Linked DNA regions of Homo sapiens: regions 1, 3, 4, 5, 6 and 7 are each linked to region 2. The links are contacts of gene promoters, found by promoter capture Hi-C in human tissues and cell types (Jung and others, 2019). All regions are on one chromosome and are shown on one strand. The core of a region is centred on a gene start or on the middle of the fragment in contact, and the rest is flanking DNA. Distances in the headings are between cores, read along the strand shown. Region 1 overlaps LOC124900839. Region 2 holds the start of RNF4 (ring finger protein 4). Region 3 overlaps ADD1 (adducin 1). Region 4 overlaps NELFA (negative elongation factor complex member A). Region 5 holds the start of NOP14 (NOP14 nucleolar protein). Region 6 overlaps GRK4 (G protein-coupled receptor kinase 4). Region 7 overlaps NOP14 (NOP14 nucleolar protein).

Evidence for each region. The method cuts DNA at HindIII sites, captures the fragments that hold promoters and counts their contacts. A contact is called where the count stands out against the background at its distance.
Region 1: a fragment that was not itself captured here is called in contact with the fragment with the promoter of RNF4 in region 2 in 1 of the 25 tissues and cell types used here (dorsolateral prefrontal cortex).
Region 3: a fragment that was not itself captured here is called in contact with the fragment with the promoter of RNF4 in region 2 in 1 of the 25 tissues and cell types used here (dorsolateral prefrontal cortex).
Region 4: a contact is called between a fragment that was not itself captured here and the fragment with the promoter of RNF4 in region 2, in 2 of the 25 tissues and cell types used here (IMR-90 fibroblasts and dorsolateral prefrontal cortex).
Region 5: the fragment with the promoter of NOP14 here is called in contact with the fragment with the promoter of RNF4 in region 2 in 2 of the 25 tissues and cell types used here (H1 embryonic stem cells and lymphoblastoid cells).
Region 6: a contact is called between a fragment that was not itself captured here and the fragment with the promoter of RNF4 in region 2, in 2 of the 25 tissues and cell types used here (dorsolateral prefrontal cortex and spleen).
Region 7: a contact is called between a fragment that was not itself captured here and the fragment with the promoter of RNF4 in region 2, in 1 of the 25 tissues and cell types used here (dorsolateral prefrontal cortex).

The regions. Positions count from the first base shown.
Region 1 is chr4:2,016,373-2,019,231 of GRCh38, forward strand. LOC124900839 reads right to left here. Exons shown (of 4, transcript XM_047416543.1): 3 at 1,298-1,370. Among named protein-coding and RNA genes, the nearest start is that of NELFA, 8.8 kb to the left of the region's middle. The HindIII fragment of the contact is 5,535 bases long and covers 1-2,859 here.
Region 2 is chr4:2,467,534-2,470,546 of GRCh38, forward strand. RNF4 (ring finger protein 4) reads left to right here and starts at 1,573. Exons shown (of 8, transcript NM_002938.5): 1 at 1,573-1,725. LOC107986250 (a long non-coding RNA gene) reads right to left here and starts at 1,418. Exons shown (of 2, transcript XR_001741551.3): 1 at 867-1,418. RefSeq lists a silencer at 1,116-1,285 and enhancers at 1,436-1,795, 1,479-2,051, 2,096-2,215. The HindIII fragment of the contact is 20,287 bases long and covers 1-3,013 here.
Region 3 is chr4:2,922,162-2,925,365 of GRCh38, forward strand. The region is part of intron 14 of ADD1 (adducin 1); the gene reads left to right. Among named protein-coding and RNA genes, the nearest start is that of SLC75A1, 11 kb to the right of the region's middle. RefSeq lists enhancers at 1-780, 781-1,676, 1,677-2,572. The HindIII fragment of the contact is 7,050 bases long and covers 1-3,204 here.
Region 4 is chr4:1,995,701-1,998,817 of GRCh38, forward strand. All of the region lies in intron 1 of NELFA (negative elongation factor complex member A), which reads right to left. Among named protein-coding and RNA genes, the nearest start is that of MIR943, 11 kb to the left of the region's middle. RefSeq lists an enhancer at 2,320-2,819. The HindIII fragment of the contact is 4,892 bases long and covers 1-3,117 here.
Region 5 is chr4:2,962,108-2,965,015 of GRCh38, forward strand. NOP14 (NOP14 nucleolar protein) reads right to left here and starts at 1,299. Exons shown (of 18, transcript NM_001291978.2): 1 at 1,018-1,299. The coding sequence starts at 1,212. It overlaps GRK4 (G protein-coupled receptor kinase 4), which reads left to right and starts at 1,464. Exons shown (of 16, transcript NM_182982.3): 1 at 1,464-2,015. The coding sequence starts at 1,964. RefSeq lists enhancers at 957-1,490, 1,491-2,024 and silencers at 1,487-1,916, 2,087-2,136. The HindIII fragment of the contact is 12,457 bases long and covers 1-2,908 here.
Region 6 is chr4:2,978,021-2,980,776 of GRCh38, forward strand. All of the region lies in intron 1 of GRK4 (G protein-coupled receptor kinase 4), which reads left to right. Among named protein-coding and RNA genes, the nearest start is that of GRK4, 16 kb to the left of the region's middle. The HindIII fragment of the contact is 3,818 bases long and covers 1-2,756 here.
Region 7 is chr4:2,944,593-2,947,578 of GRCh38, forward strand. NOP14 (NOP14 nucleolar protein) reads right to left here. Exons shown (of 18, transcript NM_001291978.2): 10 at 2,934-2,986; 11 at 1,820-1,955; 12 at 536-637. NOP14-AS1 (NOP14 antisense RNA 1) reads left to right here. Exons shown (of 4, transcript NR_015453.2): 3 at 2,281-2,528. Among named protein-coding and RNA genes, the nearest start is that of NOP14-AS1, 11 kb to the left of the region's middle. RefSeq lists an enhancer at 2,043-2,986. The HindIII fragment of the contact is 9,701 bases long and covers 1-2,986 here.

The sequences.
Region 1 (2,859 bases), core at 128-2,627, 450 kb before region 2:
GGGTCCAGGCTCTGTTTTCTGGTTTGTAAATCCAGAAAGACAGTCAGTTTTCTGTTAGGGTTATCTGCTTGCACCATGCCGGGGCTCCCTAGCTGTCCTCAGGCTTAAGCTTTGAAAATGGCCTTAAAACTCACCAGGATCAGTCAGCTGTGGTGGCTCATGCCTGTGATCCCAACACTTTGGAAGGCCGAGGCAGGTGGATCACCTGAGGTCAGGAGTTCAAAACCAGCCTGGCCAACATGGCAAAACCCCATCTCTACTAAAAATACAAAAATTAGCCGGGCACAGTGGTGGGCACCTGTAATCCCAGCTACTCAGGAGGCTGAGGCAGGAGCATTGCTTGAATCCGGGAGGCAGAGGTCGCAGTGAGCTGAGATCACACCATTGCACTCCAGCCTGGGCAACAGAGCAAGACTTTGTCTCAAACAAACAAACAAATTCACCAGGCTGGTCCTTTCCTCCAAGTTTTTACTTCCCTCCAAAATCCGCTTGCTTTGGTTTATGCTCCAAAGCCTTTAATCAGTGGGAGGGTTGGCCTGTTAGCTATCCCGCCATACTTTTCACTGTTACATGAGTCCATTAAGTGATATGTTTGCTTATTTTTATTCTTATTTTTTTGAGACGGATTCTCACTCTGTCGCCCAGGCTGGAGTGCAGTAGTGTGATCTTGGCTCACTGCAAGCTCCGCCTCCCGGGTTCTGGCCGTTCTCCTGCCTCAGCCTCCTGAGTATCTGGGACTACAAGTCGCCCGCCACCACGCCCGGCTAATTTTTTGTATTTTTATTAGAGATGGGGTTTCACCGTGTTAGCCAGCATGGTCTCGATCTCCTCACCTCGTGATCCGCCCGCCTCAGCCTCCCAAAGTGCTGGGATTACAGGTGTGAGCCACCATGCCCGGCCATGTTTGCTTATTTTTTAAGGTGCCCTAGATCAAATTAAAGAAGTTCCCTTCTATTCCTAATTTGCTACAGGTTTTTAAAAATCATGACCAACATTTAATTTTATCAAATGTTCTTATAAAATGTTTTGTTGTGCATACTGAGATGATTGTATGATTTTTTCACCTTTATTTTGTAAATGTGATGAATTACATTGATTGCCTTTCAAATTACATAAACCTTACTTTCCTAGAATAAGCCCAACTTGGACTATGTTATTCTTTTTTACACGTTGCTAGATTTCGCTTGTTAGTATTTTATCTAGACTACTAATGCTTTGTTCATGAGGAGAGCCTTTACAGTGTTGGGTTAAGTTTATGCAGCCTCTTGCAGTGAGTGGATCCCTCTTCTCACCTTACCTGGGAGAAGCCCTCTAGGTCATCACCACACCAGCAGCCAGTCCTAATCGGCTGCTACGACGGCTCCTGGAAGCTGGAGAAAAAAATGATGACAGAGAAAATGAGGTGGAAGGCTGGGCACAGTGGCTCATGCCTGTAATCCCAGCACTTTGGGAGGCCGAGGCAGGTGGATCATGAGGTCAAGAGATCAAGACCATCCTGGCCAACATGGTGAAACCCTGTCTCTACTAAAAATACAAAAATTAACTGGGCGTGGTGGCTCATGCCTGTAATCCCAGCTACACAGGAGGCTGAGGCAGGAGAATCGCTTGAACCTGGGAGGTGGAGGTTGCCGTGAGCTGAGATCGTGCCATTGCACTCCAGCCTGGGCACCAAGCGTGAGACTCCGTCTCAAAAAAAAAAAAAAAAAAAGAAAGAAAGAAAATGAAAAAAAAAAAGAGATGGAAAAGACAGAGGGGCCTTGGCAGAATATTGAGGACGGGATGAGAATTGAGACCACCTGTGTCCACTTAACTCTTGGGATCAAGAGCTGAGATCACCTGTGTCAACCTGATTTAATGATTATTTCCAGAAAATTCTTTCCAGGAAGATAAAACTAAATCAGTCAATCACTGTTTGCTTCAGGAAAATCTTGCAGAACAATGTATCCTGGCACATAGTTTACCAATCTGGGAACCAGCTCACTCATCAGAACCTTCATCTGGCTGTGTTTCTCTGTCCTGCACTGTTGGGCCATAAGCTCTGTCCTATCCCAATGAGTCCTTGCACTGAAAGACAGACCATCAACCATCTGAGCCCAGATTCTAAAATCCTATGAGGCCAGGCGCACTTTGGGAGGCTGAGGTGGGAGGATTGCGTGAGCCCAGGAGTTAGAGACCAGCCTTGGCAACACAGCAAGACTCTGTCTCTACAAAACACTAAAAAATTAGCCGGGTGTGGTGGAGCACACCTGTAGTCCCAGCTACTTGGGAGGTTGATGGGGGAGGATTGCTTGAGCCCAGGAGGTTGAGGCTGCAGTGAGCTGTGGTTGCACCACTGCAATCTAGCCCGGGCAACAGAGCAAGACCCTGTCTCTAAAAATAAACAAGTTTTCTGGGAGTCACTGTTGAGTTGTTGGCAGTGAATGGTCCTAAATGTTCCCATGGGATTCGGCTGAGACGGCCTCCCCAGGATGGCCTGAGACCTGCGACTGGAACCAGCACTCTCCCCGTGACCCTCTGGTTTTCTTTTGTGAAAGCTCCTTGTGTTCCAGGATTGAGAAAGCCTTCTTACGTGTGCTTTGATTATCTGATGAGATGAAGATTTTGATCCTTGTGGAAACTACTTTGCTCCTAACAACAATTCTGTGTGTCCGTCTGTCCTTGTCACCTTCTGTTGTGAAGAGCTCCTTGGGAAGAGGATGAACTAACACAGGTCTGAATGTCCCTGTCTCAAGGGCACCAAGGGCCAGTGAGTTCAGATCTCGTGAATCCACTGTTCTTATCTAACAAACTAAGTCCTCATCTGCACCTTCAGTTTTGCCTTGTCTTCAGACAGATTCTCTGCTCACGCCTGTCCTCCTA
Region 2 (3,013 bases), core at 323-2,822:
CAGGCGTGGTGGCGGGCGCCTGTAGTCCCAGCTACTTGGGAGGCTGAGGCAGGAGAATGGCGTGAACCCGGGATGCGGAGCTTGCAGTGAGCCGAGATCGCGCCACTGCACTCCAGCCTGGGCGACAGAGCGAGACTCCGTCTCAAAACAAACAAACAAACAAACAAAAAACACAAATACTTAGATATTTTACATGAGAATTACATTTATCTATCAGATACTCTACCATGCCAGATTTCCTTACAATTACGAAAAATAGCAAACACATATTGTTTGTAAATGCAACACAAAAACGTTAATGCTCTGGTTTCTATCTGCCTTGTCATTCCGTTATTTGACTCCATTTTCGAGGTTAGAAACTCACTGTAAGGTGGCCGGGCGAGGTGGCTCACACCAGTAATCCCAGCACTTTTGGAGGCCAAGGAGGGTGGATCACCTGAGGTCAGGAGCTCGAGACCAGCCTGGCCAACATGATGGAACTCCATCTCTACTAAAAATACAAAGAAAATTAGCCGGGCGTGGTGGCAGGCGCCTGTAATCCCAGCTATTCGGGAGGCTGAGGCAGGAGAATCACGTGAACCCAGGAGGTTAGAGCTTGCAGTGAGCCGAGATCGCGCCACTAAAACAAACAAACTCACTGTAAGGAAACAATGTAACCCAAGGCATTTGGGGTGACCTTCACGTTGCCTGAGGGTGCCGAGGGACCAGAGATGCTGGCCATGGACTAAGGTCTGGGTATTCTCAGGCAGCAGGGACAAGGTGGGCTTTTTTCCTGGTTGCTAAACCCACGTCAAAGTCGAGCTCAGGGACTGGAGCTCAAGAAACCCACCGCCCATTCTCCAGTCCGACCGGGGACCTGCATGCACCTCTGCCGTGCTGCCCTGAGTCCTCCAATCCTCCACACTCTTCCTCTGTTATGTACACGTCTCCACCCAGGCCTGCAAAAGTCCCAGCTTCCTCGCAGGGGCAGGGACCCGCACGCCGGCCCAGGGCTTGGCACGCGGGGATGCTGAAACAGGGCCAGGCCTGGTTTCCAGCCGATCGTCAGAGTCCCAAGGCCCAGCAACCTTCCTCACAAAGGCCTCGTTAAGAGGCGAGGAAACAAGAGCCGGGAGAGGGGCGCGGAACGGCGGGCGGGACGAACGACCAGCTCCGCGCCTCCGGCCAGCTGCGTCGAGCCAGGGGCACCGCGGCTGTTGTGCGGCTGGAAATCTAGGAATGGGAAGGTTCGGGGCCTGCTCGGCTCCGGAGGCAGCTGGCGGGTCGTCCCTGGCGGCGTTGGAGCGGTCAGTGGCAGCCGGGCACGGGCGACCGGGTCGCCCGGGTCGCCCTCAGACCGTGACTCCCGAAAAACCTTGCGGGCGGGGCGCGCCCGCGCCGTCTCTTGCCGGAAGGTGCGAGTTAGTGCGCTCGATTGTGGGCGGGGGCGGAAAGAGGCGCGTTTTAAAGTGGTAACAGATGGTTTTCTTATCCAATAGGATTAAAAAATTTGTCCTTACCCGGCCGACCGCGGAAGTAGAGTAGGCGGGCGGCCAATGGGGACATGATGGGGGGCGGAGCCGAGGCCTCCGAAGCGGAAGTGGGTTGCTGTTGAGGCGGCGGCATCTTTCTCGAGGAGCTCTCCTGGGCGGCTGAAGAAGGAGCTTCTTCTCCGGAGTGCGCCGGCGGTGGCGCCTGCGGACCTAACTAGCTCCAGGTTAGGCCGAGCTTTGCGGGAAAGCAGCGGTAAGTCAGGGCCTTGCAGATGCGAGGTTTAGGCAGCTTCGCGGCCTACAGAGGCCTCGGCCCGCGCCTCTTGGGGGAGCCGCGCTGCGCGGCTTGACCCAGCCGAGGCTTTGCAGCCCGGGACCTCGAGCCAGCTCTGGTCGCTCGCACTGCCGTCCGCGCGGGCGCACCGAGCCCGGCTTGGCGCGGGCAACAGAAGTTAGGAGGTCTGCGTCTGGGTCTCGGCTCACCCTGGGGGGCCGCGGCCATGGGGCTTAGTTCCTAGCCTAGGAAGGGAAACTGAGACTCTGGGAGGGGCAGGAACGCCCCCAAGGTCACTTGGAAAGTCGGGCAGGATGTGCTGTTAGGGGGAAGACCCGGGCAGGGTTTTTGTTCCCCGCTGACGACGCCTCCTTTGTGTGTTCGCGCCGCCGCCCCGCCATCGTGGGGCCTGCGAGTTTGCCGGGGTGCGTGGGCCGCGTGGCGGGGCCTTTTGTAGGTCGGGAGGATCTGAGTACGGGTGCGGGCCTGACCGTGGGGGCGCCGAGGTCGCAGTCTAAAACTTAGTAGGGCCTCGATTTCCGGGCGCGCTTCCGGGCCCCGGCTGGTGGTTGGTGGAACGTGCGACTGTGAGGCTTGCGGCCCAGCCCTGCACCGCTCGGGCCCTTCACCGCTCTGGCGCGCCTATAGACAGGTGTATGAAGATTCTCACGACCCGAAACAGAGTTGCTAGTAAACACCGCTTTTCCGCCTTTGATCCATCGAGGGAAGAGGGAAAAGGATAGAGCTTGGGCAAGCCGTTTTGGTAGGGATTTCAGCTTTTGTCTTTCACTTGTCAGTTCCCATAGACGTTCACAAACTTAATAATCTTCGTTCTGTTTCTGCACCAAGTTCTTGAGCCAGACGTAGGGTCTCAGCTCTGGAGCCTGGCTTAGACTGTCCAACTGACTGGGGAGACTGAGGTCCAGAAAAGTGAAGTGGTCTGCCCAAGGTCACATAGCCAGCTATTTGGCAGCAGATGAGGTTAAGTCCTACCTGCAAGATTTGGGTTTTGAATTCATTGACCAGGAGTTTTGGGACCACTGTCAATAAAAGAGACATTGAAGGGAATCTTTTGTTACTTTCTTGGTGATTTGCTTTTTAATGGACAAGGACATATTGGGTTCAGTTTTATCTGTGAGTTTGAGGTGAAATAGAGGCATTCGAGTAGCAAGATATATTGCTGGCTTTTGTATTGCCTGAATTTGAGCTTCCAAAAATCTTACTTTAACACATCGTTTATTGATCTTTTCTTGAATTACTACCTTTG
Region 3 (3,204 bases), core at 264-2,763, 450 kb after region 2:
CAGTTTTGTTCCCTTGCTGGTGAGGAGTTGTGATCCTTTGGAGGAGAAGAGGCATTCTGGTTTTTGGAAATTTCAGCCTTTTTGCACTGGTTTTTCCTCGTCTTTGTGGATTTATCTACGTTTGGTCCTTGATGTTGGTGACCTTCAGATGGCGTTTTCATGTGGATGTCCTTTTTGTTGATGTTGATGCTATCCCTTTCTGTTTGTTAGTTTTCCTTCTAACAGACAGGCTCCTCTGCTGCAGGTCTGTTGGAGTTTGCTGGAGGTCGACTCCAGGCCCTGTTTGCCTGGGTATCACCAGCAGAGGCTGCAGAACAGCAAAGATCGCTGCCTGTTCCTTCCTCTGGAAGTTTCGTCCCAGAGGGGCACCTGCCAGATGCCAGCTGGAGCTCTCCTATATGAGGTGTCTGTTGACCCCTGCCGGGAGGTGTCTCCCAGTCAGGAGGCACAGGGGTCAGGGACCCACTTGAGTTGGCTGTCTGTCCCTCAGCAGAGCTTGAGTGCTGTGCTGGGAGATCCACCGCTCTCTTCAGAGCCAGCAGGTAGTAACTTCAGTCTGCTGAAGTTGTGCCCACAGCCAACCCTTCCCCCAGGTGCTCTGTCCCAGGGAGATGGGACTTTTATCTATAAGCCCCTGACTGGGGCTGCTGCCTTTCTTTCAGAGATGCCCCGCCCAGGGAGGAGGAATCTAGAGAGGCAGTCTGGCTACAGTGGCTTTGCATAGCTGCGGTGGGCTCTGCCCAGTGTGAACTTCCTGGCAGCTTTGTTTACACTGTGAGGGGAAAATGGCCTACTCAAGCCTCAGTAATGGTGGATGCCCCTCCCCCCACCAAGCTCCAGCATCCCAGGTCGACTTCAGACTGCTGTGCTGGCAGCAAGAATTTCAAGCCAGTGGATCTTAGCTTGCTGGGCTCCATGGGGGTGGGATCTGCTGAGCAAGACCACTTGGCTCCCTGGCTTCAGCCCCCTTTCCAGGGGTGTGAAGGGTTCTGTCTTGCTGGCATTCCAGGCGCCACTGGGGTATCAGAAAAAACTCCTGCAGCTAGCTCAGTGTCTGCCGAAACGGCTGCCCAGTTTTGTGCTTGAAACCCAGGGTCCTGGTGTCATGGGCAGCCAAGGGAATTTCCTGGTCTGTGGATTGCGAAGACCGTGGGAAAAGCGTAGTATTTGAGCTGGAATGCACTGTTTCTCAAGCCACAGTCCCTCATGGCTTCCCTTGGCTAGATGAGGGAGTTCCCCGACTCCTTGCACTTCCTGGGTGAGGCAACACCCCACCCTGCTTTGGCTCGCCCTCCGTGGGCTGCACCCACTGTCTAACCAGTCCCAGGGAGATGAGCCAGGTACCTCAGTTGGAAATGCAGAAATCATCCACCTTCTGCGTTGATCTCACTGGGAGCTGCAGATCGGAGCTGTTCCTATTCGGCCATGTTGCCTGTCACCCTGACATTTGTCTCTTTACGAACACAGTATTTCTGTCTGTTGAAGCTTCACCGGGGAGAGACCTCCTTTACTCAGTTTGATTCATTAACACTCAGCATTGCTGAGCAGTCATTGTGCCGGGCACATGCCCAGTGCTATTGTGCGTACATCTCATCTCATTCTCAAAGTAACCCTGAGAGATAGGTCATTTTCCCCCGGCTGGAGCAGAGGAATAGGGAGCTCAGACAGGGCGGCTCGCGAGAACGAGGTTGTGCGTGGCCGAGCCCTGATTTGGACAGAAGCGCACTGCCTTCCTCACTGAGTCTTTGGTCACAGCAGTCAGCCCCGGCCTCTGTGCAGGGGGACGCTCTGAACGTCCTTACTGTGCTTGTGTGTAGGGCTTGGGGTTTCTGACAGAAATTCTCTTTCTCCATAAACCTTGAGGGTTTCCTGTGCAGGTGTGGTCACAGGCCGGAGGGTGAAAATGCTGACTGCCCTGGCATGTGCCCAGGTCCCATCAGGAATGGCTGGTGCAGCCTGTACTTCTCTTGGTAGCCCGCTGACAAAGGCGGTCTTGTTTTTGTCAAAGATGGGGCAGTCTTAAAATGAATACAAATAAGCGGCTCAAGTTTGAGACCCTCACGGAGCAGGTGGTTTCAAATGTCAGGCTTTGAAAAGGAAATGTTGAGAACTAATGAGAGAAGCAGGTCTCCAAAGCCTATTCCTTGAGGGCTTTTGGGCATCAGCTGCTTTTCCCCCAAGCTCCCTGCTGCCAGCTCTCTTGTCCACTAGGCTCTGAGCAGCCTTGGTGCTGGCACCAAGAAGAACCAGGGGCACAGGGACCCCTGCCAGGAGGCTCCCGCCAGCATCCTCAGGGCCGTAAGCTCCAACTCAGGTTTTTACTGAAACCTCAGTGTGCTTCTCAGTCCTCCGGGGTCAGCCTTGCTGGAGCCACCTTGTTGTGTGGGACTGACTGTTGCTCTCCTGGGCCGTCGTCATCCTGGGAGCTAGGCACTCCTCCTAAGAGGACCTCTTCACCGGTTTTTGTCTCGTTCTAGACCAGCCACTGCATTACGTAGTTGTGACTGAAATTTGAGTTGCTGAATTGTTTTTCAGTGTCACACCGCTATTTACTATTCAGGCCGCCACACACACCAGGCCCTGCTGCTGGTTGTCTCCCTCCAGTGAAGCTTTGTCTGAGCCATTGCTGTAATTACCTGCCTTAGAGCGAGAACTGGAGGTAGTCAGCTTGAGCTGTGGGTCATGTGGCCTCCTCCTAGTTTCTGTGCACATGTACACAGACATGTGTCTGCCCTTTGGAGTCTCCTGGGATCTGAGTAACCTGGATTGTTTTTAAAAACAAGTCAAACAAGATATGTGGAGTTTCCCCCCGATGTGTGAGGCTCCTTCAGCAGGGCTGTGATGGCAGCTGAGTGGATGGGGACAGGCTCTGGCCGTGCTCTGTGATCACAGAGCTGTCAGCAGGAGAACCCACAGGAGGTCTGATCTGGCCCTTGGCATGGGCTGAGGGGAGAATGTGCCACAGGTAAAATGCAGGCTGGCTGCCAGAGGTCAGCACCTTTTCCCGGTTGAGGCTGTATGCTCACTCAGCTAGGTGGTATGGCGGCCTTTTTATGGACACCTGGCTTCTGGAAGGTAGCTGCCAACGTGGTACTTGGGGAGGCGAGCCAGCTGTTAGGGTGGGAGCAGAGGCCCTGGGAGCTCAGAAGGATGATGATAGCTGCTGGTTCAAAATACGGACCTGCTGATCCTAAGCTATTAATC
Region 4 (3,117 bases), core at 598-3,097, 470 kb before region 2:
AATACAGAGAATCTCTATGTAAAGATCCAAGGTTGAGCTCACATGGTAACTATAACAACTATACACTTGGATGCACCTAATAACACAGCCCCAAAATATATACAGCATAAGCTGAGAAGGAGGAACAGACAAACCCATAATCCTAACGGGGAGATCAACAAATCCTCTTCTCACTGATTTTTTTTTTTTTTTTTAAACCAAGCTGCACGTGCCTGTAGTTCTAGATACTTGGGAGGCTGAGGAATTTGAGTCCAGCCCGGGCAACATAGTAAGACCCCACACCTTTAAAACAAAAAACAGTTAAGAATAGAATAGATTTGTACAACATGATTATACAAATTGGCCTAATGAACATCCACTGAGCAATGGATTTCAAAACTAGAGTACATATGATTCGCAAGCTTACTGGCAACATTTACAAAAACTGACCATACATTTTGCCATTAAGCAGATCTTAAATTTCAAACGACTAAAATAAACCATATTCTCTGACAAGAGCTCAATACAGCTAGAAATTAATAATAAAAACAAAACTATCTTCCCCTCCAATGTAGGGAAATTATGAAACATTTCTAAATTACACAGGGATCAGTGAAGAACTTACTGAAATTAAAAAATAGTGTGACGATACAGTTCTGTGACTATCAAAACTTGTGGGATGCGGCTTACACTGTAATTAGAAGAGAATTTATGGACATACGCACATACACACACGAAAAGAAGCCTGAGATTGGCATCCATCTTTAAAACTTAGAAAAAGAGCAACAAAGTAAGTACAAAGACAGGAGAAAGAAAATTAGTGAAACAGAAATCCAAGTTCAACAAAGCCAGAAGCTGGTAGTTTGAAAATTCTTATAAAATCAACAAACATCTGGTGAGATGGATCAAGGGGGAAAAAATAAGAAATAATCACTATACATGCTTCTGACATTTAAAAAGAAGATGTTTGAGCTGGTCATATTGGCTCATGCCTGTAATCCCAGCAATTTGGTCAACCAAGGCATGTGGATCACTTGAGGTCAGGAGCTTGAGACCAGACTGGCCAACGTGGCAAAAACCTGTCTCTACTAAAAATACAAAAATTAGCCGGGAATGGTGGCACACGCCTGTGATCCCAGCTACTCAGAAGGCTGAGGCACGATAATCACTTGAGTCTGGAAGGTGGAGGTTGCAGTGAGCCAAGATTGCACCATTGCACTCCAGCCTCGATGACAGAAGGGTATTTGAGACACTCTCTCTACAAAAAATTTAAAAAAAAAGAAAAGTAGGCAGGTATGGTGGTGCATGCCTGCAGTCTTAGCTGCTCAGGAAGGTGAGGCAGGAGATCACTTGAGCTTAGGAGTTTAAGGTTACAGTGAGTTATGATCACATCACTGCCACTCCAGCCTGAGTGACAGTGACACTATGCATTAAAACAAACAAAAAAAACAAAACCCATAAAAACAAAAATCAATACTGAAAAATCCTCCCACAAAGTAAATTTCAGGTCCAGAAGGCTTCATTACCAAGTTCTACCAAATATTTAGGAAGAAATCACTCCATTAGTAAACAAACTTTCCAAAGAAAAAGAAAAGACCAGATACATTACAAATCCTTTTTTAAGGGTAGCATAACCCCAATACCAAAATCCAACAAAGACAGTCTGGGTAAGTAAAACTACAGGTCAATCTCACCCAAGAACAAAGATATAGTACAAAATTCCTATACAAAACATCAGGATGATATAATCTAACAACATAAAATGACCAATTTAGGTTTACCGCAGGAATGCAAGGTTGGTTTATAATTAAAGCTATTTTGTTAATGTGGTGAATTACATGTCAATAGATATTTAAGCATTTGATAAAATTTAAAGTTCCTTTGTGCTCACACCCACTAGGATCGCTATATCAAAAAGATAACAAATGTTGGCAAGGATGTGAGAGACTGAACACTCGAAAATCACTATGGAGAAAGTAAGATGGTGTAGCCACTATGGAAAATAGTTTGGCAATTTCTCAAAATGTTAAATATAGAATAACCTGGGCAGCCCAGACAAGTGGTTTCCCCCCACTGAAGCACACTCCCTCCATCATGGGACAAAGTGCTTCATTAAATGGGTCCTGCTCCCTATGTCACCCAACTAGGTGAGACCCTCCAACAGGGGTTGTCAGACACCCTATACAGCAGTGACCCTACTGGCATCAGGTTGGTGCCCCTCGAGATCAGAGGTCCCAGAAGAAGGAGCAGGCACCCATCTTTGCTGTTCTGCAGCCTCCTTTAGTGACACCTCCAGGCATGGGAGTGAATCAGATGAATATGGCCTGAAGTGAACCCCCAGCAAACTGCAGCAGCCCTACAGAAGAGGGACATGACTACGGCAAGGAAAACAAACGAGCAGAAAACGACAACAGCATCAACAACAACAACAACAACCACAACAAAAGCCCCCATCCAAGGGTCAGCAGCCTCAAAGACTGAAACTAGACAAACTCACGAAGATGAGAAAGAATCAACGAAAAAATGCTGAAAACCCCAAAGGCCAGAGTGCCTCTTCTCCTCCAAATGATCACAATGTCTCTCCAAAAAGGGCGCAGAACTAGACGGAGGATTGGATGGACGAGCTGACAGAAGTAGGCTTCAGAAGATGGGTAATAAAAAAAAAAACAATGATGAACTAAAGGAGCATGTTCTATCCCAATGCAAAGAAGCTAAGAACCTTGATAAAAGGTCAGAGGAATTGCTAACTAGAATAACCGGTTTAGAGAGGAACATAAATGACCTGATGAAGCTGAAAAACACAGCACCAGAACCTCATGAGTCATCCGCAAGTATTAACAGCCGAATCCACAAAGCGGAACAAAGGATATCAGAGTTTGAACACCACCTTACTGAAATAAGACATGCAGACAACAATAGAGAGAAAAGAATGAAAAGGAACGAACAAAGCCTCCAAAAAACACGGGATTTCATAAAAAGACCAAACCTACTACTGACTGGAGTACCAGAAGGAGACGGGGAGAATGGAAACAAGCTGGAAAACACACTTAAGGATATTATCCAGAACTTCCTCAACCTAGAGACAGGCCAACATGCAAATTTGGGAAATACAGAGAACCCCACTAAGACACTCCATGA
Region 5 (2,908 bases), core at 49-2,548, 490 kb after region 2:
TATTTAGAGAACACTTGCTGTGTGCTCTATGTGCTATCTTACTTAATTCTCACAAACCACCACGAGGGGTAGGATGTATACTATCATCTCTACTTTTGAAATGAGAAAACTGAGGCTTCAGTGGTGAAGACAAATGTGTCTCTTCTAGGGAACCACACTACCTTATTCTCCCACCCCGGCCCGGGGGTGTGTAATGAGGGACTCCTATCGAAGTCAGCTGTAAGTCTATCTTGCCTATTCATTATACAGGCTGTCGTCTTCGCGCAGTAAGGATAATATGTGTTTTGATTCAAAGACCATCCAGCTTGCACACTGTGATGAACAGAGATCAGGAGCTCATGAAGGCAAGGGCAAGTCTTATTTACCTTTATCTCCCCGAACCTAGAAGCGAGGTCAAACAGAAGCGCTCGGGGTAGCAAGAAGGCTTTGTAGATATTGAAATGTGAATGCATGCCCAGCCCTTACCAGGTGCGTGACCTTAGGAAATGCACTTGTCCTTTCTGTGCCTTAATTTTTTCACCAACCTGCTAATGTATGTTCCTCAGTGAAAATTTAAAAAAAAAAAAGTTAAAAAAACTAGGAAGCAATGAGTTTCCATAGAGTTACTTCCCAAGGAACAAGGTTACGCGCTTCGGGAGAGAGCCGATGAAACATCAAACGCAGCATCCTACACAGCCCCTATCCACCGTCCCCAAACCTGCAGAGCTCAAAGTAAACGCGGAAGGGTTAACAAGCAGCTTGGTCCAGGGCGCCGCCCGAAGTGACTGACTCGGCCTGACCCGGTTGGAGGAGTCGCCGAAATAACACGAGTGCAGGGTCTCCAAGACGGCGAGAGTTTCCAGGTCACTCCAGCTCAGAGAACAGCAGAGGCTTTCGGACTATCAAGTCAGTGCCGTGTGCCTGTCACGGCCTGTGCCGCTCAACGAGGAAACCGACGCACCGAGAAGGACGCAGCCGGCCGAGAGCAGCGTGGGGTCCAGATCCTGCCTTCCGGCTCCCCGTGCGCCCCCCGCTTACCTTCCTGAGGGCCCGTGCGCGAGACACCCCGGGCAGTCCCACGTCGTGGCGCGTCTTCCGGCCCAGGATCTGGAACTTCTGCCTGTTAACTTTCACCTCGAACGGATTGGAGTTGGCCTTCGCCGGGCCCCCTCGCGCTCCCGCCGGCGCCCCGGAGGCCTTCCTTCGCGCCCCGACCTTCTTCGCCTTCGCCATGGCGCGCGCCCCGCTGCGCCCAAGGGCCCGAGACCCGAAGAGAGACAGGCGCGCGCTACCCTAAGACACGTGCCGGGCCGCGGAACCGCTTCCTCGTCTCGCGAGAACAGCGCAGCACCTCCGACTCGCGAGAAGTAAACACCGCGCCCGCAGGCTCGGCTTACTCGCCGATAGGCTCAGCGACTACAACTCCCAGCAGGCCACGCGCCGCGGCCCGCCGTGTACTCTTGGCGCAGGGCCTTCTGGGAGCTGTAGTGCCCCGGCCGCGGCGGCGAGGGGCGCTCCCTCTTCAGCTAAGCCGTTAGCGCCGAGCCCGCCCGGGAGCGGGTCGCCGGCCGCGGCGGGCGCCCCTGCCAGTGAGCCCCTGTCCGAAGTGAGCCACGGCATTGACTCGGGGCTGCCCGGGGGCAGGGCACTGAGGAGGGAGTTGCGCGCGCGAGGCGAGGGCGATGGGGCCAAGAAGAACCGGGGCGATAGCGCGGCAGCGGTGACAGCTGGGACCCGCCGCGGTCGGGCTGCCCCCTCCCCTCGCCCCGACCGCTCCCCTGCTGGTGAGGGCCTGCGGAGGCGGCGGCGGCGGCGCCCTTGGTGGCAGTGGTGGCGGCGGAGCAGCCTCCCGGGATCGTGTCCGGAGCTCGAGGAGAGGGTGGTGCCCGGCGAGCTATGCACGGGGGCGGCGGCGTCTCCTCCTGTTCCGCCTCCTCAGTCTCCTCGGTCTCGCAGAATCCGCCGGCGGCGGCGGCGCCAGGACATGGAGCTCGAGAACATCGTGGCCAACTCGCTGCTGCTGAAAGCGCGTCAAGGTGGGTGCGCGGCAGGCGCCCCCGACCCCCCCCCCAGAGAACCCCGAATCCCGGGGAACCCTGGCCCCCCTGAAGGAACCCGACATCCCCGGAGAACCCCGATTTCCCTGGAGAGCCCCGACACCTCCCACTGGGGGAACCCAGATCTGCACGGAGCCGGAGCCGGGGTCTGTGCAGTGTGGTCAGGCTGCCCGGGCCAGGTCCCAGTCCCCATCTCCTGGCCCAGATGAGAGAAGTCTGCGCTTTGCTCTTCTTAGTCTTGCCCTGTGTCCTTGTCCTGTCCTCTCGGTGTGACCTCGGTGACAGTGTTGCTTCAGGATGCGGCAGGCAGTGTCCTGCTTGTGTTGGACAACCTGTCCCACCAAAAAAGAACGGCGTCTTTATGGTCTTAAGGGGGACAAAGAATAGCAGCCTGGGAACTACTCTGGGCGAGAACCTTCCGATAATGATTGTAGGGCAATGTTATTTTTAACATAGCTGCTTGGTTTTGAGGTTTGATCTGAGGCTCTATGGTGTGTCAAGTGTGCTTTAGCACGACGTGGTCACAGATGGACAAGTTGGCAAAAATTCAGCCTTTTATCATTATTAAAGTGAGGCAGAAATTTAAAAATAGTAATAAGTACTGCATTCATTCACTCCAAGAAAAGAAAAAGCCAAGGCCCAGAATGTGGCAAGGCAAGGGTTAAAAAGAAAAGAAGAACAAGTTTTCTTTTGCTTAGCAAGCTCACTTTAAGGACAGTTATAAGATAACGCTGTTCTGTTTGAGAAGTCGAATCCAAAGGAATAGGCTCCAGACACCCCCCTTCCAGAGCAGGGGTGAAGAAAAAAAAAAAAGAGGACAAATATCTGTGTTTAGCCAGTTCTTGGTTTTTTCTTTCAACGCAGCTACAAGG
Region 6 (2,756 bases), core at 190-2,689, 510 kb after region 2:
AACATGAGCCTTTGGTGCCCTGACTATATCTCTTTTGACAATAAAATATTTTCCTTCTTTTTTACAGCTAAAATTGAGAATAAACTAGGTTTTATAGAAATTCCTAAAAGTCAGTTGCTGTATTAATCTATCCTAAAGATCCATATTGAGTGGGAAGAAAAAGGGAAAACAACTTTCATCTTTAAAATTACTTTATGTAGAAGGTTCTTGGTTATCTCATAGACTGTGGCTTCACACATTAAGCTAATTGATAATATGCTAAGTTTTTAAGAATCTTTTAAAAACTTGGTCTGATAGGATTCTGTAATTGAGCTAATCGATTCTATTGTCAATCTAAAAAAAGATATCAGAGAAAAATATCTCTGAATTTAATGAATGAATTAGGGAGTAAGCAAAGAGGATTATAATTTGGGATGCACAGCCATGGCGAGCCACAGGTGCACCCGAAAAGGGGAAAGGAAGAGGAAGCTTTTATTTGGCAGACAGGGAGAGGTTCACATAAGCTGCTTGGAAACAGAGTTCACTGGTTCCAGAGGCTCAAAATCGTAGTTGGCATCAGTTCTGTGGTGGAGATGCCACTAGGGGGCAGGTGTTCTTTCAAGAGCATCTTATCTCAATTGCTGCCGTCCTAAAAAAAGTCCAGGCCAGGCAAGGTGGCTCATGCTTGTAATCCCAGTTGTTTGAGAGGCTGAGGCAGGAGGGTCGATTGGGCCCAGGGGTCTGAGACTAGCTTGGGCAACATGGCAAGATCTCTTCTCTACAAAAGCTTTTTAAAAAAATAGCCATGTGTGGCCAGGCACAGTGGCTCATGCCTGTAATCCCAGCACTTTGGGAGGCCGAGGTGGGCGGATCTCCTGAGTTCAGGAGTTCGAGACCAGCCTGGCCCACATGCTGAAACCCCGTCTCTTACTGAAAATACACAAATTAGGCTGGGCACGGTGACTCACGCCTGTGATCCCAGCACTTTGGGAGGCCAAGGCAGGCGGATCATGAGGTCAGGAGATCGAGACCATCCTGGTTAACGTGGTGAAACACCGTCTGTAAATACAAAAAAATTAGCCAGGCATGGTGATGGGCGCCTATAGTCCCACCTACTTGGGAGGCTGAGGCAGGAGAATGGTGTGAACCCAGGAGGTGGAGCTTGCAGTGAGCCGAGATCGCGCCATTGCACTCCAGCCTGGGCAACAGAACGAGACTCCGTCTCAAAAAAAAAAACAAAAAAAAACCCCACAAATTACCTGGGTGTGGTGGCAGGCGCCTGCAATCCCAGCTATTCTGGAGGCTAAAGTGGGAGAATCACCTGAACCCAGGAGGTGGAGGTTGCAATCATCTGAGATGGTGCCACTGCACTCCAACCTGAGTGACAGAGGGAGACTCTGTCTCAAAAAAAAAAAAAAAAAAAAAAAGAGTGGCCAGGCACGGTGGCTCACGCCTGTAATCCCAGCACTTTGGGGAGGCCGAGGCGGGCGGATCACCTGAGGTCAGGAGTTCGAGACCAGCCTGACCAACATGGAGAAACCCTGTCTCTACTAAAGATACAAAATTAGCCGGGCGTGGTGGCACATGCCTGTAATCCCAGCTACTCAGGAGGCTGAGCCAGGAGAATTGCTTGAACCCAGTAGGCGGAGGTTGTGGTGAGCCAAGATCACACCATTGCACTCCAGCCTGGGCAACAAGAGTGAAACTCCGTCCCCCTACCCCCCCAAAAAAAATCCATGTGTGGTGGTGCATGCTTGTGGTCCCAGCTGCTGAGGAGGCTGAGGTAGCTGGATCTCTTGAGTCCAGGAAGTCAAGGCTGCAGTGAGACTTGCATTCTGCATTCTAGCCTGGGTGACAGAGCAAGACCCTATCTCAAAAAAGAAAAAAAATGGTCCAGTGTACCTGGTCTCAGAAATACCTGCATATGTGCCAAATGTAGGTTGTGAAAAGCATGAAATGCATGAAGGATGTGAAAGAATTTCTTGTGGGGTTATTTTAGACACTCCTCCTAATGGTTCTTATCTCAGACATGTAAGCAAGAACCCTTCTTTGTGCCTTCCCAGCTCCAAGTTTCTTTGGGTCTGACAAGAGTGCTTTCATCCTGTTAGGACCAGCTGCCTGACCCTCCACAGGGTACCCAGAGCCTGGACAGTGCCTGGCACACTGGACATGGACAGCAGATGTCTTCTCAATAAATAATTTGTTAGCCAGGATTCACAGTATGGAAGGATGACTGGGGCTGCCATGGCCACCCAGCCTCCCTGGAGCCTTCACTGCCTGGAGCTGGCTGGGAGTGGCAGCAGCCAGGATGAAGAGGAAAGCCTAGCACCTTGACTTGTTTCCCTCATCATCCAAGATGGGAACCCGGGAACCAGTCTTCAGTGGGAATCTTCTGTCGATGTAGGAAACATACCCTAAAGGGGAAGGGAAGGAACACTGAACCCCACTCATGGGCCTGGTACCTTTCTATACAAGTTATCCTATTTAATCTCCACAACAAGCCTACTAGATGCTGAGATCTCAATGTGCAAATACCCCAGAACAGCACCTAGATGAGGCACAGGGACTCACTGGAAGCCTTGTCTTCCTTGGGCCCATCTGTGAGGAGCAGAACAGCTCACCTCTTGCCTGACAGGCTAGTCCTGGGTAATGCATCCAGCCTACCTCTTGTTGCCACCCTACCCCACCGTCAGTGCCACATACCCGTGAACACAAACCCACTGGGGCTGAGCGGCTGTGCCACTGTCACAGGATCCTTAGGGTGTCACTTCACCAGC
Region 7 (2,986 bases), core at 52-2,551, 480 kb after region 2:
GACGGGGTTTCGCCATGTTGGCCACACTGGTCTTGAACTCCCGACCTCAGGTGATCCGCCCGCCTCAGCCTCCGAAAGTGCTGGGATTACAGGCGTGAGCCACCGCGCCTGGCCAGAGCTATACTGATTATAAAGTTCCTTCCACCCATACAGAGCGTACGATTACTGCACTAAGCATGTACCAATCACATGCCTAATAAAGAAAAAGGAACAGCTTGAACTTTTTAAGCCAAAAAGGGAACAAAAGCCCTTATCATCACACTGGATAACTTCACCACTAACTTGAAAGGTTGTTTTCTGGGGTAGCACCATCTGTAACCTTGAGGTGCCAAACCAGGCCCTCCCACTCCCACCCACATCTGGGGCTGCTCGAGCCGGGGCTCTTTTAGATGGGCCCTCTTTGGCCTAACCGCAGTGCTCGGTCTCTGCAGCCCTTAAACAGCCACACTCATGTTCCACAAGGCCCCGAGGGGCTGTGGCTCCGGCCACCCGTGGTGCAGCAGGCCGACCCCTGCCGCATGTGGAGAGAACGCACCTTGGTGAGCAGCTGACTGAGGCACACGAGGGCAGGGGTCACCACTGGGTGCCAGAAGTCGGAAGTTGGAAATAGCAGCCCAGTGATTTTCAAATAAATGAGCTGGAAAGAAAGTGTTACCACAGGTTAAAGAAGGTAAATGAAGTCCATCCATATGCCCTCCCCGCAAACACTCCGGAGCCAAGAACAGGATCTGGCGAGGAGAGGGTGCATCTCCTTGGCCCAGAGCTCTGGCCTCAGTGTCACAGAACAGGCGTCCAACCACCGTGGGTCAACCAGCTAAACGTGCAGTGAGGACACTGAGGCCCATGAAGACTTCAAAGCAGTCAACAATGGTTATAGACACGGGCTCAGATCATGTTTTGGGGAGTTGATTAAAAATCACTAACCTAAGTCCTACATTTTTAAGCTTCTGCTAACTATTGTGAATCCATTTCAACACAAACACCAGGCAACAGAATAAAGAGCGTATCTCAGCAAGTATTTCCTTAAAGTTACTAAAGCTGAAAATACAGCATGAGGCTGTTATAAAATTGTTAAAAATCTCAGCGTACAAATGTCTCCCAACCTTTGAATAACATAGAAACCGAGACCAATTTAAACCAGCCCACAGGCTTGGGCCCTTAAGGACAATACCGTGGTTCTATTTGCCTTCCAATGTTTTTGTCACTGGACCAAATACAGCACCATTCACGTGGAATCAAACCAGAATCTCCCTGCACGACCCACACGTTAGTCCATGGCTAGTGGAGGAGTGCCCTCCCCTCCCAGGCTCGCTGCCGTGCACTCTCACTCCAGATCACCCTCACTGCCGTGCACTCTCACTCCAGATCACCCTCACTGCCGTGCACTCTCACTCCAGATCACCCTCACTGCCGTGCACTCTCACTCCAGATCACCCTCACTGCCGTGCACTCTCACTCCAGATCACCCTCACTGCCGTGCACTCTCACTCCAGATCACCCTCACTGCCGTGCACTCTCACTCCAGATCACCCTCGCTGCCGTGCACTCACTCCAGATCACCCTCACTGCCGTGCACTCTCCAGATCACCCTCACTGCCGTGCACTCTCCAGATCACCCTCACTGCCGTGCACTCTCACTCCAGATCACCCTCACTGCCGTGCACTCTCACTCCAGATCACCCTCGCTGCCGTGCAGCTCACTCCACATCACCCTGGAAGCACAGGGTACAGCCAAGAGCATCGTACCCGTCGTCCACCTTCTGTGATGCCAAACAGAACTTCTGTGGCAGGGGCAGTGCCTAGACTGAACTCTGCTTACCACATCCAACCCTGGCAATGCCGCCCGGCCTTTGGTCTCAATCATTTCTTCCATCTCATGCATCGCATCTCGGAGAACAAATTTGATAGCGTCACTTGCAGATTCAGGAAACATCTGGCAAAGATGATATAAGTGCCTGTTAAGCAGAAATGTAAAGTCAGGAGAGAATGACTTTAGATAAGAAACACAGAAAAGCCCTGCAAGCCACTTTCCTATGCAGTCACCTGTTGACTGAGCAAGTAAGAACTGGATGAATCCGCTTTTTCTAACAGCATTCTTAAGAGTCTACACTCACTTCTGCCATTTCCTAAAAACTCGGCCATAACATTATGGACTGGAGGTGGTGGGAGAAACAGCTCGATTTGTGGTACAGACGTTGTTGGGGGCACCACTCTGTGTGGCAGCTGCAGCTGACAGCTCCAAGGCACTTTCCATATTAACTCATTTATTCCTCACGACAGGTACTTCTTTGATAGTGCCTCCATGCATGCAGAAGATGACGTGGAGAGCTCCGCGCGGCACAGGGCAGGAAGCTGGTGTGCACTCTCATGGATCCGAAGCCAACACACGCCTCTCAACTGAGGACTCTGCCCCTCTGGCATTCTTCCAGCCACCAGCCCTGGGGGCCAGGAGCCACTGAGTGGGTCACACAGCCTTAGAGGGCAACGAGGGCAGGAGCTCGCCCTGGCGGTCCCCATGCAGACAAGAGGTACACACTCCCTGGCATGCAAAGCCACCCAACTGGGTTTCACTGAAGGGTGAGGGGCGGGGTGTCTACCGTGCTTTCCAAATACCGCTCAGTCACCCAGAGCTTGAAACTTACAATGAGCCACCCCATCCCAGCCACAAATCTAAAGGGGTTCACTTGTTTCAAAATCAACTTGTTTGTGGTTAAAAGTCAGTCCCAGCTCTACAGTGGCTGGAGCGGCACGTGTGAGAAGCCGGCTTGCGCTGTGAGGCTCACAAGCCCTGGGTGACCACCTGCCCACTTGGCATGCTGACACCATCATTCCACCTACCTTAGTAACTCTGGAATGTATTTTTATGACTCTAAATGGGAGAAAAATTGTTCTGCTTAACCCCACATCCCAGATGACACACCATTTTTACTTACACAACCAACTTATCAATGACTGTGAGGTCTGGTGGGTCATCTGTAGCCAAATC